4 separate regions of the Homo sapiens genome follow, and all the other regions are linked to region 3. The links are contacts of gene promoters, found by promoter capture Hi-C in human tissues and cell types (Jung and others, 2019). All regions are on one chromosome and are shown on one strand. Each heading gives the region's core, a stretch centred on a gene start or on the middle of the fragment in contact. The rest is flanking DNA. Distances are from core to core; before and after follow the strand shown.

Evidence for each region. Contacts are between HindIII fragments. The study calls those that stand out against the background at their distance.
Region 1: a fragment that was not itself captured here is called in contact with the fragment with the promoter of POLR3E in region 3 in 2 of the 25 tissues and cell types used here (dorsolateral prefrontal cortex and spleen).
Region 2: a fragment that was not itself captured here is called in contact with the fragment with the promoter of POLR3E in region 3 in 1 of the 25 tissues and cell types used here (dorsolateral prefrontal cortex).
Region 4: a fragment that was not itself captured here is called in contact with the fragment with the promoter of POLR3E in region 3 in 1 of the 25 tissues and cell types used here (dorsolateral prefrontal cortex).

The regions. Positions count from the first base shown.
Region 1 is chr16:21,130,700-21,133,399 of GRCh38, reverse strand. The region is part of intron 8 of DNAH3 (dynein axonemal heavy chain 3); the gene reads left to right. Among named protein-coding and RNA genes, the nearest start is that of DNAH3, 19 kb to the left of the region's middle. The HindIII fragment of the contact is 3,729 bases long and covers 1-2,700 here.
Region 2 is chr16:21,169,667-21,172,366 of GRCh38, reverse strand. LDAF1 (lipid droplet assembly factor 1) reads right to left here. Exons shown (of 5, transcript NM_001301771.2): 3 at 1,762-1,930. Among named protein-coding and RNA genes, the nearest start is that of LDAF1, 12 kb to the right of the region's middle. The HindIII fragment of the contact is 5,839 bases long and covers 1-2,700 here.
Region 3 is chr16:22,296,088-22,298,787 of GRCh38, reverse strand. It overlaps POLR3E (RNA polymerase III subunit E), which reads right to left and starts at 1,379. Exons shown (of 21, transcript NM_018119.4): 1 at 1,251-1,379. It overlaps TRL-AAG2-4 (tRNA-Leu (anticodon AAG) 2-4), which reads right to left and starts at 1,648; the gene lies at 1,567-1,648. RefSeq lists silencers at 159-298, 1,309-1,758 and enhancers at 509-648, 1,091-1,635. The HindIII fragment of the contact is 29,231 bases long and covers 1-2,700 here.
Region 4 is chr16:20,860,555-20,863,254 of GRCh38, reverse strand. DCUN1D3 (defective in cullin neddylation 1 domain containing 3) reads left to right here. Exons shown (of 3, transcript NM_173475.4): 2 at 612-1,147. The coding sequence starts at 717. Among named protein-coding and RNA genes, the nearest start is that of DCUN1D3, 38 kb to the left of the region's middle. The HindIII fragment of the contact is 4,724 bases long and covers 1-2,700 here.

The sequences.
Region 1 (2,700 bases), core at 185-2,684, 1.2 Mb after region 3:
GCGGGCTTGGGTTTTATTCCTTTTTTTTTTTTTTTTTTGAGACGAATCTCACCCTGTCACCCAGGCTGGAGTGCAGTGGCATAATCTCGATTCACTGCAACCTCCTCCTCCCAAGCTGAAGCAATCCTCCCACCTCAGTCTCCCAAGTTAGCTGAGTAGTTGGGACCACAGACCCACACCACCACACCCAGCTAATTTTTTGTATTTTTTGATAGAGACGGAGTTTCACCATGTTGTCCAGACTGGTCTCAAACTCCTAAGCTCAAGCAATCCACCCACATCGGCACCCCAAAGTTCTGGGATTACAGGTGTAAGCCACCACGCCCGGACGGTCTTATTCCTTTATGTAACTCAGTGCCAGTACAGGGCTGGCAAGCAGTGATCTCTCAGGTATATTTATCAATAATTAAATTTGCGAAACTCCGTCTCAAAAAAAAAAAAATTGTAGGAGTCCAGATGAGACAGAAGCCACCTTTTTTCATTCTTTCATTTTAAAAAAAAGTGAGATATCCACATTCCATAAAATTCACCCTTTGAAAGTACACAATGCAAGTTTTTAATATATTCACAAGTTTGTTTAATCCTTACCACTGTCTAATTCAAGAGTATTATCATTACCCCAAAAAGAAACCCATTAGCAGTCACTCCGCATTCTCACCTTCCCCCATTTCCTCCCAACCACTAAGTGATTTTCTGTCTCTATGGATTTGCATATTCTGGACATTTTATAGAAATGGAATCATGCAATATATGATCTTTTGTGTCTGGTGTCTTTCAATGAACAATATTGTCAGTCTTCATCCACACTGAAGCTTGTATCAGTAGTGAGTGCTTCCTTTTTATGGCGGCATACTAATCCATTGGATGGCTATCCGACATTTGTTTTATCTATGCATCAATTGCAGTGAGCCTGGAGGTGGAAGACTCTGGTTTTTTTAGTGAGCCCTTCAAGAAGGTACACATCCTGGTGAGAGGATGAAGACACCGGAGTTCACTGAAAGGCCAGGCTAATGAAATGATGAGCTGCCCCCATCTGAGTTTTGTATTAGAAAAATTAGAGGCAGATATGCTTACTTAACTTTGATTGGCCGAACTTATTAGTAGCTCATGTATTTTGCTTTGGGAGGATCTCTAGCTTTGAACGTGTTCAGTCTTAAGGGAGCCCTGTGGCTTGGAGAACCTACTTGTTTTTCAAATCCTTAGTTTTGCTTGTATTTTAAAAAGGAATTGAGGGGGTGAAGTCAACGTAGGACAGAGCCCATCAGTGAAAAGAAATAGCTGTATTCTTTTCTTTGAACTGAATTCAATTTTCTAAAGCATTGGAAGTACCAGTCAGCAGTCAGGACATTGAGAAAAAAGAAGTAATTTTCTAACTAAGTGGAACCATATAAAGTAATAACTTATAGAATGGGATCTGAATTCTGGTTCTTGTTCTGTTACTAATTAATAGTATAATTTGAGAGAAATTAATCCCTCTGTGACTGTTTTCTTTTCTTTCTTTCTCTCTTCCTTTCTTTCTCTCCCCCTTTTTTTTTTTTTTTTTTTGAGATGGAGTTTCACTCTTGTTGCCCAGGCTGGAGTGCAATGGCGCGATCTTGGCTCACCGCAACCTCTGCCTCCCAGGTTCAAACATTTCTCCTGCCTCAGCCTCCCTAGTAGCTGGGATTACAGGCATGTGCCACCATGCCTGGCTAATTTTTTTTTGTATTTTTAGTAGAGACAGGGTTTCTCCATGTTGGTCAGGCTGGTCTCGAACTCCCGACCTCAGGTGATCCACCTGCCTCAGCCTCCCAAAGTGCTGGGATTACAGGCAAGAGCCACCACGTCCGGCCTTTCTTTCTTTCCTTCCTTCCTTTCTTTTTCTTTCTTTCCTTCCTTCCTTCCTTCCTTCCTTCTCTCTCATCTCTCTTTCTTTTCTTTCTTCCTTCCTTCCTTCCTTCCTTTCTTTCCTTCTTTCTTTCTTCCTTTCTTTTCTTCTTTCTTTCTCTTTGACCCTGTTTGTCCTTCCTTCCTTCCTTCCTTCCTTCCTCTGTGACCCTGTTTCTTTCTTGCTTTCTTGCTTGCTTTCTTGTTTTAGACAAGCTTTTGCTCTGTCACCCAGGGTGTGGTGCAGTGGCATGATTAGAGTTCACTGCAGCCTCAAACTCCTGGGCTCTCTCCTCAGCCTCCCAAGTAGCTGGGACTATAGGTGCATGCCACCATGTCTGACTAATTTTTACATTTTTTGTAGAAACAGGGTCTCTCTAGGTTGCTTAGGCTGGGCTTGAACTCCTGGCTTTAAGAATTCCTCCTTCCTCAGCCTCCCAAAGTGTTGCGATTACAGGCATGAGCCACCGCCTAGTCTGACCCTGTGTTCTACATGCAAATGGGAATCATCATAACAATACCTACCTCCTGGAGTTGTTAGCTAAAGAAAGTGCTTAGACTGCTGCTTGGCACACAGTAATTGCTCAACAAATTAAGGTATTGCTTTAAGTACAAGCGTGTTTATGAGCTAAAAAAATAAATTAACATAGAAACTAGTGAGGAAGTCAGTCTTAGAGCTGGATGAATAGCCAGAAACTTCATAAAGAAGTTCAGAAGATAATAGATAATCACATGTACCTGAGTTTAAATTGATCTCGTAGCAAAGACGGCAAATTGTTGAGCCTATAGCTTCACTGAGAAGAAAGGCTTTTTACCACTTGCTTTTCATGGTTC
Region 2 (2,700 bases), core at 81-2,580, 1.1 Mb after region 3:
TCAAGTGATTCTACTGTCTCAGCCTCCCAAGTAGCTGGGATACAGGTGCCCACCACCATGCCCGGCTAATTTTTTGTATTTTTAGTAGAGATGGGGTTTCACCATGTTGGCCAGGCTGGTCGCGAACTCCTGACCTCCAGTGATCTGCCCTCCTCAGCCTCCCAGTGTTGGGATTACAGGCATGAGCCACTGTGTCCGGCCTCTTTTTTTTTTTTTTTAAAGAGATGGAGGGAATCTCGCTATGTTGCCCAGAGTGGTCTTGAACTCCTGGTCTCAAAAGATCCAAAGTCTGTATTTTGATAAAGAAAGTAAGATTTATACACACTTGGAGCTGGGTGCAGTGGCTCACACCTGTAATCCCAGCACTTTGGGAGGCCGAGGTGGGCAGATCACTTGAGGTCGGGAGCTCAAGACCATCCTGGCCAACATGGCGAAACCCTATCTCTACCAAAAATACAAAAATTAGTCGGGCATGGTGGGGCATGCCTGTAATCCCAACTACTTGGGAGGCTGAGGCAGGAGAATTTCTTGAACCTGGGTGGCAGAGGTTGCAGTGAGTTGAGATCATGCCACTGTATTCCAGGCTGGGCGACAGAGTAAGATTCCATCTAGAAAAAAAAAAAAGATTTAAATACACTCAGGTTCAAGAACCACTATTCTAGAGGCTTTGCACATGCTGTTCCCCTGTCCAAAAGGCCCTTCCTTGCCCACCCTGAGGCAAAGTTGTTATGCATCCTTAAAGTCTTGTCTGCTGTAAAGCTTTGCATGGTACCACCAAAATGTAATGGCTCTCTCCTTTCTCTATAAATTTCCTTTCTTATGGTACTCATTCATTCCTCCATCCATTCATTCATGCATTCACCCATCTATCTATCAACATTTACTCAAAAACCACTCTGCCAGGCTGTATTTGGCTCATCCACTGACCATGCCTACTTTCTCCTTCAAGTGTAAACTGCCTTGTCCCTGGGGCAAATAAACAGCCCTGGGTGCTCTTAGCTCTGGGAAGCCACGGAATGGACCAGAAGTGATCACCTGACCCACTGGCCACCATCTCTTTGGCCACTTGCCTGGGGTGTGTGATCTGATTTGAAAAGTCAAAGTGAGCAAATCAGATTTGCTTTCCCAGTAATTTTAACTTAGGAATACAGGGAGAAGTTGACTGTTGGTAGTGGAACTTCAGGAGGAAGGATGAAGGTGGTCTCCAGTACCTAGCGAGGCATCTGGCATGCAGTAGGTGCCCAATAACTCACTGTGGAATGAATGGCCTCTCTGCTTAATAATAATAGCTAGCATTCATTGAGAAGCTACTCTGTGACATGTATTGTGTATTGTGCTAAGGACTTTATGGAGCCATAAGTTTCAATCTTCACAACAACCTTTTGAGATTGTATTATTATATCTGCATTTTACATATTAAGAATTTAAGGCTCAGAGAGGTAAACCACTTGCCCCAAATCACAGTGGTGGAGGTGGGATTTGAATGCAGGCTCCAGAGTCTATGTTTTACCTACTCTGATAAGTTGCCTTGCTTGATGTGATTTTGACAAGAATGGCAGACAACCAGGCATGGTAGCCCATGGCCATAATCCCAGCACTTTGGCAGGCCGACGTGGGAGGATCACTTGAGCCCAGGAGTTTGAGACCAGCCTGGGCAACATAACAAGACCCCGCCCCTTAAAAAAATTTTTAAATGGCCCCAAAAGTATTTTTCTCCCAATTGAATTATTTTCTAAAGGGGTGAATGACGGAACAGGCTACCTTCCAATATTATGACCCCCAGCAGAGCAGCCAGGGTGGTAAGCACCACGATGAGCAGGAAGAATCCAACAGGAACGGCCGACATGACAATGAACACCAGCAAGGTGAAGGCCAGAAACGGATGGCTGTCCAAGTACTGACCCACTGGAGACTTCATAAAGGCCACCACCTGTAGGCAAAGGACAAAGAGCCAGGGATAAGTAACACATCGGAACCCCAGGTTGAATGAATCTGCCCAAGCTGTGGGAATTACAAGGCAGAAGTCGTAAAGCCAGAAGGCTTATGCATTAACAAGTCACTACAGGCCGGGTGCAGTGGCTCATGTCTGTAATCCCAACACTTTGGGAGGCCAAGGCGAGCGGATCACCTGAGGTTGGGAGCTTGAGACCAGCCTGACCAACATGATGAAACCCCCGTCTCTACTAAAAATACAAAATTAGCCAGGCACGGTGGTGTGTGCCTGTAATCCTAGCTACTGGGGAGGCTGAGGCAGGAGAATTGCTTGAACCTGGGAGACAGAGGTTGCAGTGAGCCAAGGTTGCACCATTGCACTCCAGCCTGGGAGGCAGAGGTTGCAGTGAGCCAAGGTCACACCATTGCACGCCAGCCTGGGAGACAGAGCAAGACTCCATCTCAAAAATGATAATAAGAATAACAAGAGCGAAACTCCGTCTCAAAAAAAAAAAAAAAGTCACTACAACAAGACTTCTCCCAAGACATGAGTCACCCAGGCAGCTATCTTAGGCAGCTGTGGAGAGGTGGCAAGTCTGAGGTCCCCACCCAAGGTCAAGCCTTGTGAAAGGAGGAAAGACCCAGTCATGGCTCTCCTGCCAAACACACTCTTGAGAAGACCTCTTCGGCATAAAGGTGCATTGATGTAAGGTACATACCATCTGCCTCCTACTTTACAGCTGAGGTTCTCATAGTTGAAGCCACTCA
Region 3 (2,700 bases), core at 130-2,629:
AGCCCTATCAATAGAGATTTATCATCTTCAATTTGGAAATGACGAGACTGAGGTTCAGATATAAGCAACTCATCCAAGGTGGAATGAGGACAGAAACTTGGGTCTCGCTATGTCAAAGATCCTTATTCTTATTCTTAACCACTATACTGCACGGTTTTCTGATAAACGGCAGTATGGTTAAGTGGGTAAGAGCTTGGACCCGAGAACAAAACTGTGCAGGTTCAAATCCCACCACAGCTGCTTGGCATCTGTGACCCACCTGAGTTGTCTGGGTTTGGTATTCCTCCCTATTTTCATCCCTAAAGTAGGGAAACTAAGTACCGACCTCCAGACCCCTGCGGGGAAGGAGTAAGGACAGGACGCTAATAAACGTAACCTCTGGGAAGGTTTGTTATTACTTGACAACATGTTTTCTGCCAACGTAAGCGGGTAATGACGCTAAGCCACAAGTCAAACGCTGCAAGCAGGAGCGTCACCCGGTTTCTACTGAGCCGTCACCACAACCCTATGAGGTAGGAATTTCTATTATCTCTATTTCACAGATGAGGAAACTGTGGAGATCGCTAAGATCTCTTCTTTCCGCCTCCAAGCCCAAGGAATTCTAAAGCTAACCCAAAGGAACGACCTTGTTTGTTTACTGACACCTCCTCGGACCGAATGGTCAGGGCTGTATCCGGAACACAGAGTTGGCTCGGTAAACACTGAATGGTTGCCTGAATAAATGAATGAGGAATCCCTGGCCTCGCCGGGCAGAGGCTAATCCGGTTCAGCTGCGAAGTGGGGGCTCCGGCAGGCGCAGGTGCCCTCCCTGCCCATCGGGGCGGGCCGCCGATCCCGAGCCTCGCTGTCCAATGGGTTTCTGCTCCCTCGCGGGTGGTCAGGCCCCCCTTCTCACGCCCACCACGCAGTCCCTGCCGCGAGCCGCCACTACACCCGACGCGCGGACAGGTGTTTCTTCCGTAGGAGGCCTCCCAGGCCCGGATAGGGCAGGTCGGCTGGACCCTGAGTCACCGCCGCCAGCGTCGGCCGCGGCCTCCCCAACTCCCAGGTGTCAGGTCAAGGAAGTCAGAGTCCGGGGTCGGCCTGGAGCCGGCTGCCCCTCCTCCCCGCCCGAGTCCCGAGAGGCCTCCAGCTGCTAGGCACAGCGCGGCGCGGGCCTCCTTGGCCTACTCGGGAATCTAGCCCAGGCCCACGTCGTGAGTGCGGTCCGGCTCAAGCCCCAGCTCGGGCACTGCCAAGACGGGACTCACCTCTCCGCGGGGGCCGAGCGCGGACGGCGGCAACGGCCCAGTTACCCGCGGGCTGCAGAGACGGCGGCGGCCCGGCTCTCCTCTCAGGCGGCGGCCATGTTGCTGGTGGAGAAACTCCGGCGGACACGTGGGGGGGAGCGGGCCGGCCCCAGCGTTTCCTCTTACCCACAATGCCCCGCCCCGGTGCACGCGGCTCCGCCCCCTCCGCCGCGCCATTCATGCAGGCCGTGAGCCCCGCCCTGCAGCAGGGGGCGCTGATGGCACGCGCAAAACTGAGCCAGGAGTGTATGCAGCGGGGACAAAAAGACAGCAACCCTGGCAGCGGTGGGATTCGAACCCACGCCCCCGAAGAGACTGGAGCCTTAATCCAGCGCCTTAGACCGCTCGGCCACGCTACCCAGCTGCAATATGTTTATGCCAGAAAGCTACTTAATGCTTTTGCTTTTGCATTTAATCTGGACATTGCGAGGCGTTTTCGCTGAGGTTTTTTTTTTGCTTAACGTGTGTTCAAGGTGATCCCTATAGAATTATTTTAAAAAGCCGTGTTTTGGAAAATAAACACTTGCTCCAGTCTTTAGACCCAGGTTGGTTCCGAATAGGTATTAGAGCAAAACGCATTTTTAGAAACTTTACTCTGAGTTGGATGGTTAACCCGGAGACCCCTGGTTAACCCACAGGTAATCCATACGACCCGGATTGGGTGTCTCCGGGAGAAGAAATTGATCTGATCAGAAACATGCACCAGGGGATCTGACGGCCAAACCCTGGAGCTGGTCTGGGCAGTTGTCTCTGAAAAATTATGTTTAAATTTTTACTTACACAAATAACACGCGAATTATTGCAAAATATTTAAACTTTGCAGATAAGGTACAAATGCTCTTTGACCTTGACTCGCATCCTAGGCCCCTCCGCCGAGGTAACTAACCATTATTATCTGTTTAATATGAACTATGGTTTGAATGTGTCCCCCAAATTTCATGTGTTGGAAATTTAATCCCCAATGTGGCAGTATTGTGTGGTGGGCCCTTTAAGAGGTGATTAGATCATGAGGGTGGAGCCCTTATGAATGGATTAATCTCTTCATGGATTCATGGATTAATGGGTTAATGGATTAATGGGTTATCTTGGGAGGGGGACTGATGGCTTTATAAGAAGAGGGAGAGAGACCTTAGCTAGCAAGGGAGCAGCTCAGCACCCCCTCCATATGATGGCTTGTACTGCCTGGGAACTCTGCAGGTGTCCCCCACCAGCAAGAAGGCCCTCACCAGATGCACACTCTTGACCTTGGACTTCTCAGACTCCATAACTGTAAGAAATAACTTCCTTTTCTTTACAAATTACCCAGTTTCAGGTATTCTGTTATAAGCAACAGAAAATGGACTAAAACACTATATATCTTTCTAGATCTTTTGCTGTGAATTTATATGTTTATATCTATATGGATATATAT
Region 4 (2,700 bases), core at 70-2,569, 1.4 Mb after region 3:
CAAAGCAAGGGCATTTCACCTACTGTGTGGGATAGGCCCAGAAAGGAATCTGGAGAGATCAGAGGCAAATTTCATTTTGCTGCTTGGCTTAGGCCCCTGCTTGTAGTCTTGACAACCTCATCATTAGGGCATTATGAGACTATTGTTCTGAATATGGCCACCCCTTCTCCCTACTCATCCTACTTAAAAAGAAAATCTGAGAATGTTGGCATTAGGAATTAGAAGATGAACCCTTCCTTTGTGCCTTCTGGCTTAACCCAGGTCCAAATAACTTTTCTTATGTGATGGCAAGTTGGCAAGACAGATTTCCTCTGGAATATTTCTGTCAGTCTTTGATGCATTCTACATATGAATCGGCCTCTTTGAAATCTATGTTACCTTAAGAATTTTAGGAATTTCCCTCATTGGTTCTCCATATGTGCCCCAGCCTCTGCGTCGCCAAGGTGAAGTTACGGAGCTGGCCTGTGAAGGGGATGATGAACTCAGGGTCTCTCCCATGGTTCGTTGTTGGCTCATGGAAATAGAGCGGTGAACCAGTGTGCACCCTAGAAGGTAGGGTCCATACCCCATTTCCCCCACCCAGAGGTGATGGCTTTCTAATTTCCTTCCAGGTTGGCTGGCTCCTCTGGCTGATGGCATGTTGAGGTACATGGGCCAGCGGCAGCGAGGGCATCCAATCCAGAGGGGTCCACTCTAGAGGCCAGGCCACCAGCACCATGGGCCAGTGTGTCACCAAGTGTAAGAATCCCTCATCGACCCTGGGCAGCAAAAATGGAGACCGTGAGCCCAGCAACAAGTCACATAGCAGGAGGGGTGCAGGCCACCGTGAGGAGCAGGTACCACCCTGTGGCAAGCCAGGTGGAGATATCCTCGTCAACGGGACCAAGAAGGCCGAGGCTGCCACTGAGGCCTGCCAGCTGCCAACGTCCTCGGGAGATGCTGGGAGGGAGTCCAAGTCCAATGCCGAGGAGTCTTCCTTGCAAAGATTGGAAGAACTGTTCAGGCGCTACAAGGATGAGCGGGAAGATGCAATTTTGGAGGAAGGCATGGAGCGCTTTTGCAATGACCTGTGTGTTGACCCCACAGAATTTCGAGTGCTGCTCTTGGCTTGGAAGTTCCAGGCTGCAACCATGTGCAAATTCACCAGGTTAGTCACAAACACTTTATGTCACCAGGTGAGCAGTGGAGGAAAGGGAACAGCATTGGGCAGTGGTGCCCAGCTAGGATAGGACTGGGTTGGCTTCATAGGGTTTTGGGTAAGTTTTTATTTTTCTGATCAGGTTCTCTAAAGCTTGAATCTTTTGAGCCAAGTTGTGGTTATGATGCTGAGAAGCCCCTCTGGACTCTAAGGGTTTAAAATATATCTCTCTGGCTCTGCAGCAGACCTACTGAATAGGAATCTCAGCAGGGAAGGCCCAGGCACTTGGATTTTGATAGAGATTCATGTCTGGTTCTAATGTGTACGCTATGGTTTTTTTTTTCTTTTTCTTTTTCTTTTTTTTTTTGCAGAATAACGCCTTTGCCTAATTCATAGGTCAAATTTCAGGCCTATCATAGCATTATTTGGCAGCTTCTGAGTAACTGGGCACTGCTCATCTTTGCCTTAAATGAGAAATAAGCCAGGGTGAGCCAGGTGGCCAAGTTGCTGCTCGGCCCCACTGCTGTCTTGGACCTTTCTTTTCTTTTACTCCTTTACATGTCAGTTCACTCACTTGATATTTATTGTATGCCCAGCATGTGCCAGGCACTGTGAGTACCAATATAGTAAGTGCCTCTGGGGAGGGGATACACCTCTCTCCCTCCATGAAGCCACTTGCACTGTGAGTACCAATATGGTAAGTGCCTCTGGGGAGGGGATACGCCTCTCTCCCTCCATGAAGCCACTTGCACTGTGAGTACCAATATGGTAAGTGCCTCTGGGGAGGGGATACGCCTCTCTCCCTCCATGAAGCCACTTGCACTGTGAGTACCAATATAGTAAGTGCCTCTGGGGAGGGGATACGCCTCTCTCCCTCCATGAAGCCACTTGCCCTTTCTGGTACTTAGCATGTTGCCCGCCCTCAGCCAGGCCTGTGTATAATAAGGTCAGTTGGCCTCAGTTACTAAGCAGTAGCTGTGCATATTGTTCTGGTCATATGTCCCTGTAGAATGTGGTTTGTAGAGCACGGGGTTGTGAATAAGAACTGACTGTGAGGCCTAGCCATACAATTTGTAGTTTGCATGCCCCCCACCCCAGGAAGGTTACCCTCCAGACCTCAGAGGCCTCACCTCTTCAGCAGATACTACAGTCCCTGAGAAGACGATCAATGCGAGACCATGCTGTAAGCTGAAAGGGTTGTATAGATGTTAAAAATACATACATAATTTTTGTTTTTTAATAATAGAATTTTGATCTCTGGTGGTAGAATTACTCAGGTTCAGAATCCTTGGCTCCAGAAGTCTCCCTTGGCAATCTCTAAAAATATACCCCAAACAAACAACCCATAGAGAATCAGAAGGGAAACAGGAAGCCTCCTCCTCTGGAAGGAGAAAGAATCCGCAGCTTAATCGCTATTGCAGAGCGGGAAACAGGGCAGGGAGCAGGAGACTTGAGTTTAGCTTTGGGAAGATGAATGAATGAATAAATGAACCATTATCAGCTGCCAACCGTGTGCCAGGCACTGTTAGAAGCAGAATAGTAATTTGTTTAGTCCTCACCAA